Linked DNA regions of Homo sapiens: region 1 is linked to region 2. The links are contacts of gene promoters, found by promoter capture Hi-C in human tissues and cell types (Jung and others, 2019). All regions are on one chromosome and are shown on one strand. Each heading gives the region's core, a stretch centred on a gene start or on the middle of the fragment in contact. The rest is flanking DNA. Distances are from core to core; before and after follow the strand shown. Region 1 overlaps IMMP2L (inner mitochondrial membrane peptidase subunit 2). Region 2 holds the start of LRRN3 (leucine rich repeat neuronal 3).

Region 1 (3,112 bases), core at 188-2,687, 150 kb before region 2:
AGAGCTTATGTATCTGAAGGCAGTTTCCGGGTACTCCAAGCTTAGGCGGGATTCACACTTCTAAGACTTAATGTCAACAGTTTCTATTGGATGACTGCAGTCATTCTACCCCAGATGTCACAAAATTGCTTATATTTCATGATTTTTGAGTTAAAAGATGGCAATATTTTATGGTTCAACCCCCATACAACTGGGAATAAGAATGGGAGTAGGAGAAAGGTCACTTTTTGACTCATTATACTTCGCAAAGCCAGCTAAGCTTGGCTTATACCACCAAGTTCTTGTTTGTGAAGATACAAAACCCATTTTATACCTTATACTATGTCCTGGCAGAAGAGGCATGTTATGCTTTCACAGTAGTATCTCAGCCTCTGCTGGATCTTCCTTCAGTGAATCTTGTCTCAGTTTCAACTGTGTTAAGAAGGATGCATACAAAGCCACTGCCAATTTCTACAAGAACTTCACATACACCAAGCAACAGAACTTCAAAGACTTACTGAAACATTTGAAAGTCATATGAAGTGGCCTCTGTTCCCTGAGTGGCCTTTTTTATCTCCTTGGTCCCCCTAACCCTATCTCTCTCCCATTCATGCTCCTCACACCTTCCTCCCAGGCCTCATTCTAAGTTCCTCTCCCAGTATGCATATCAGTTCAGCTCTTCCTGGCTTCCAAACTCCCAATTTTCGTGTTATCGTCTGTCAGGTACATGGCAAAACAACTTAATAGGATCTACCATCCTTAAAAGGCAGTCAGGGTTATCAATAAATGATTCAATACACATTTATGGCATACTAATCTGTGTTCAGCATTATGTTAGATTCTAGTAGGGAGGGAGGGGTATCAAACAATGTCCGCAAATGCCTCCTGGCTGAGAAATTCAGTCTAGTTGGGAGGCAAGTATTTCATAATAAAAGCCATACAGCTAAGGGATACATAAAAGTAGAGCTGAGGCCTCAAGAGGGATGGTGGAAAAAGTGCAGTGTGACAGCATTTTCTGAGCTAGACTGGACAGGAAACACATTTCTTTACTGAAAATATGTTTCCAATAACTACCCTTTCTCCAAATGAAACAACAAGAAATCCAAACATACCCTCCAAAACTATTCATCTATGTATGCCACTACAGCTTATGCATTTGAATAAGGTAAGCACTGACGGAGTTTCTGATTAAAAAGATAACTGATCTTGTGCACAATATTCAATATTTGGGCGATGGGTACAGTAAAAGCCCAGACTTCACTGCCATGCAATATATCCATGTAACAAAACTGCACTTTTACCCCCTAAATCTACAAAACAATACAAAAATAGTTGCTCTTTTTTTAATGGTCACCTAAGGGGAAGAATATCGTTAAATGTAATATGCAGTTCCTACCAGAAGATGAGATAGCAGGGAGTGAGATAGAATGAAGATATTAATGTTGGATCCTTTTATATGCAAATAATTTTTCTTGACTCTATCATGAAGTTTGAATATACCAAAAATTTAAGCTTCTAATAGTACAGATTCTGCAACTGACTTCCGGACCACTTCACATATGAACATACAAATGACAGGCAGACTCTATTTGCCACTGAGAAGCTAAGTTTACATTGCTAAATCCTCTAAAGCAGAAAATAGAGCTCCCAAAGCTGACTTCTAAAGGTAGAAGAAAGTATAGAGAAGTAGTTTTCAACCATGGTTATATATGAGAGTTACCTGGAGAGTTTTTAGAATGCCTGATCCTAGGGCATCACCCCTGGGATTCTGATTTAACTGGTCTGAAATGGGACCAAGACTTTTTGTGTCCCAGGGAAGCTTTTACAAATTACCGATCCCTGGGCTGCATTCCTGGGTGTTTCCAATTAAGTTGTTCTGAAGTGACTTCCAGAAATCTGTGTTTTTCAGTGTCCCAAGAGCTTCCATGTTTGGCCAGATTTTTAAAACCATTGATCTAATGCAAAATTGCAAAAAAAAAAAAAAAAATCAGTTGTTTCTAAAATTGTAAAGCGAGTACACAGGGAATAAAAAAAAAAGTAATAAGATTTTTTGTGCTGTGGCACGAAGTCTGTTCTACGGCCCCAACTACTTCACAATTTCCTGGGTCACCTGTAAAGTTAGTGTTGACAACAGCATGAAGCACTGAATGAAGCTCCCCTTCCTGAACCTTCATCCCTAGGAAGGTAAGCCAAATGACTTTTACTGTCTCCCTGTTTATGGAAGATAACAAATATATGTCCTTTAGAAAAGCATGCCTATAATTAAGCAGTCATCTAGGCTGGCAGTAGGGTACAGCTCAGTGACTATCTTTAAACAAAATGTGGGTATCTCGCTGTATTCATTGCATCAACAATAGAACATAGCAGGCTGTTAGAAAAGCTCCCAAGTGCAGCAAAAGAGGGCTTACACAGAAAAGACTGTTGAAGTTCTGACACAGCAAAAGAAGGGAACCCAATGCTATATTTTGCTAAAAGGTAAAACACATTCTGACATTATATACTCATGTGGGCAAAACAGTAGTACTACATTACTACACCATTGACTGAGAGAGTCTCCTTATCTGGAAATAAGGGAGATCTAATTCCAGAGATATCACAGTGGGATAACCATTTAAAAAGTTAAAATAATGTGGCTCATTCCTGTAATCCCAGCACTTTGGGAGGCCGAGGTGGGAGGATCATGAGGTCAGGAGTTTCAGACCAGCCTGGCCAACATAGTGAAACCCCGTCCCTACTAAAAATACAAAAAAATTAGCCAGGCATGGTGGCAGGTGCCTGTAATCCTAGCTTATTGGGAGGGTGAGGCAGGAGAATTGCTTGAACCTGGGAGTTGGAGCTTGCAGTGAGCCAAGATTGCACCACTGCACTCCAGCCTGGGCAACAGAGCTAGACTCCATCTCAAAAAAAAAAAAAAAGTTAAAATAAACATTTATATAACAACATAGACAAATAAAAACAATTCCAAATATGCATATTTGATGGTTATTCATTAGTAATCAAAAAATTATAAAATCTCAGAAATAGAAAGGATCTTCAGAGATCTCATTCAGCCACTCAGCCACCCAACAGAATGAAGGATAACTGCACTGAAGTTTATAGATTTCCAATAAGCATTGGCACATCAAGATAGACT
Region 2 (3,192 bases), core at 122-2,621:
TGATTCATTTGAATAAATTCTTATAGAAAAAAACATTTGGGAACTGTTTCTAGAAAACTACAGAGTGAAAATATTCAGTATTTAAAGACAAGCCTACTGTTTAAAATTTTTCCTGGTATTATTATTATTATAATAACTGCAAACTATTGTTCTATGTCATGTCAATAAGCACTTAAGGAGCAATTAGATGTGAAGGTTTTGTTTTTTTTTTCCTAAGTAAATCTAATAAGTGCCATTTCTCTTTACTCCACTAGAGGGTAGTCTCTCAAAACTGGGGTTGGAGTCATGACTAGCCTGCTTTTGACCTGTTGATATATTAATCCTCATGTTCCATTCTCCTCAACAAGATGTTTCTCTAGTATACTAATTAAGGTTGTAAAACATGCATTTTTAAAACTGCTTTTTGATTTTTCATGTATGTTCTTTCAGAAATATGCACTGCTATGTGTTTCTGTGTTTTCCAAATTTCTGGTAATTAATAAAAATGTTTTACATGTATGGCTTATATAGTATATTTTCCTGGGAAATATCCTTTCAGAGTTAATAGGCCTAAGAATAAAGATAGTCTTTTAAATAATTTAACTTATTACAATCGAAATATTTCCCCAGAGTGGTAAAAAATACATCCTAAATACACACACACACTCACAGATACACAAACACACCTACACATGTACCCATTCATATGTAGCTCCTAGATTTATTACATCATATAAAGAGAAGTCAGTGAGTATAATTAGAAATACATATTTTTAAAAAGTACCCCCTCAAATGCCAATGTTGTGAATTACAGAGAGGCAAATATATGCTTTATTTTAAAAATCTGGTCAATCCAGACAAGAAATGTCATTGCTAAAAAAAAAAAAAAAAAAGTGTTATTGAACACCAAGCACATATGCTAAATTAAGTAGGATCTATAGAGAACCAAATGCCACTCAAAACAGTTGCAAGCTTCTCTTCTTAAATAATGCAGTCATTGCTGAACTTCAGAGACGGAGTTGGAGGTTTGAGTCTCTACCAGGTGTTTTTAATATTTAGGAAATCCTTATCAGTAGTGTGTCCTCTCTATTTGCAGACTGAAAACATATTTCTCTGAATGACTGATAACCTAAAATTGAGAAAACTTGTCAAAAATTCCCAACATTCCCTCAGAAAGGAAAAAAAAGAAGGAAAATGATACCTAGGAAAACATGCAAGCCTGTTTCATTTATTTGTATCCTAAGCAGCAGTGTCATAGAACAGACAGTTTGTTTCAGCCAACCAGACTGGAGCAGCTGCGAGTGCTACATCTTGGCTGTCTGAAGCGATTGGCTCCTCTCTGGGGAGTGGAGGGTGTTCAGTTATTAATGACCGCTGAGCAGGCAGCACCATGTCAGTGTGACAACTGATCGGGTGAACGATGCACCACTAACCACCATGGAAACAAGGAAAAATAAAGCCAGCTCACAGGATCTCTCTTCACTGGATTGAGAGCCTCAGCCTGCCGACTGAGAAAAAGAGTTCCAGGAAAAAGAAGGAATCCCGGCTGCAGCCTCCTGCCTTCCTTTATATTTTAAAATAGAGAGATAAGATTGCGTGCATGTGTGCATATCTATAGTATATATTTTGTACACTTTGTTACACAGACACACAAATGCACCTATTTATACCGGGCAAGAACACAACCATGTGATTATCTCAACCAAGGAACTGAGGAATCCAGCACGCAAGGACATCGGAGGTGGGCTAGCACTGAAACTGCTTTTCAAGGTAAGTTTAAAATACACATATATTTTAAAATACGTTCTATTTCTTGTCTCTTCGATGATCATGTTTTTACACCTAAATCCTCCTTTGATGTCTTCTTCTTGTCTGAATTCTAAGAGCATTTTTCTTTTATTGCACTTTTGAGAAGAAATTCACATGCAAAACCCAGCTGGCTCTGTGTGTGCCTAGCTGTGTTTGTGAGATTCTCCAACATGCATTTTACTAGCTTGAATGCCCATTAGAGGATGTGAGTGGGAGAGAAAAAGCAGTGTTGGGGGGAGGAGAAAAAGGAGGGAGACAGAAGAGAAGGGAACAGTGGGGGAGAAGAGAGGAGGAGAGGGAGAGAGAAGGAGATGGGGAAGAGAGAAGACAGAGAGGAGACAGAGAGGAGAGGAGAGTCACGGGTGATGGGGTGCAATTTTCCTTTTTCTTCACATTATTTGTAGTGAAAAGCAGATCACACATTATTCTCTGTTTTGAAATCAACCCACCAAATGGGGCATTTTTATTTTGTCTCATCCAGTGGATGCAAATTAAGGCAAATGCTGTTGTATGTTAAGAGCTAAACCACTAAGCAGAGTAGCAGAATGAGCATATCACAAACAGTTATTGAATTTCTGCCAGGCTACATCTTACGGACTGGGGTAAATGACTTCCCTTTAATAACATCCCCTCGCTGGTCTGAAGGGACAGTGCAAATGTCTGATTGCTAATGCAGCTGGAACTGCCACACACTAGGTGAAAGGATCCCATGAACCAGAAGAGTTCTAATCTTTGGTAATTAACAGGATCACAGCAGGATGGCTTTAAAGTACATTTCCTATTTAAGAAAATTGTTTGTTCTAACCAACTGCTATATTCCCTTTGCTGTTGTTGAGCTGGATGGCTTAATTCGGCTCTAATTTATTCATTTTTAACAATATGTCCTTGTTTCTCTGCCTCTAATTTCAGTGAAAGCAGGCTATGAATATGAGTAGAACCGTCCTAATTTAGTGAAAAGGGGATAATGTGAAAACAAAAATAGAAGTAAAGGTTCAAAATATCTACCTAGAAAATAGTGTGCTCTGGTACCATAAATATTACTGATATATTTCTCATCTTTAGTTTCAGAAGCAATGCCTTTGAGACAGAATTACTCTCAGTAAACTCTATGAGCATCCATGTATTGATGATTCATGGAATTCAGTGTGGGTTAATTTTTACTTCCAATCTTGTAAAGGGAAGCCAGCTACTTAGAATATGCTTTCAAACAGACAACACCAATTGAGGATATTCATGGAAACATTCACTGCCCTCTTTACTGGGTCCTGGAAAGACAGTAAAAGAAACCTAGCATTTGTATTTCATCTTCTGGAGCTCTCTCCTGCCTTCTTTTAGTTCAACTAACCACACAGTTAACAGAGTCAGCTTCTTTGAAACTGTGGGTTATTTTTTTCCACAACTGTG

Evidence for each region. Contacts are between HindIII fragments. The study calls those that stand out against the background at their distance.
Region 1: a contact is called between a fragment that was not itself captured here and the fragment with the promoter of LRRN3 in region 2, in 1 of the 25 tissues and cell types used here (spleen).

Annotation. Positions count from the first base shown.
Region 1 is chr7:110,937,440-110,940,551 of GRCh38, forward strand. The region is part of intron 4 of IMMP2L (inner mitochondrial membrane peptidase subunit 2); the gene reads right to left. Among named protein-coding and RNA genes, the nearest start is that of LRRN3, 150 kb to the right of the region's middle. The HindIII fragment of the contact is 5,017 bases long and covers 1-3,112 here.
Region 2 is chr7:111,089,756-111,092,947 of GRCh38, forward strand. It overlaps LRRN3 (leucine rich repeat neuronal 3), which reads left to right and starts at 1,372. Exons shown (of 3, transcript NM_001099658.2): 1 at 1,372-1,749. All of the region lies in intron 3 of IMMP2L (inner mitochondrial membrane peptidase subunit 2), which reads right to left. The HindIII fragment of the contact is 6,407 bases long and covers 1-3,192 here.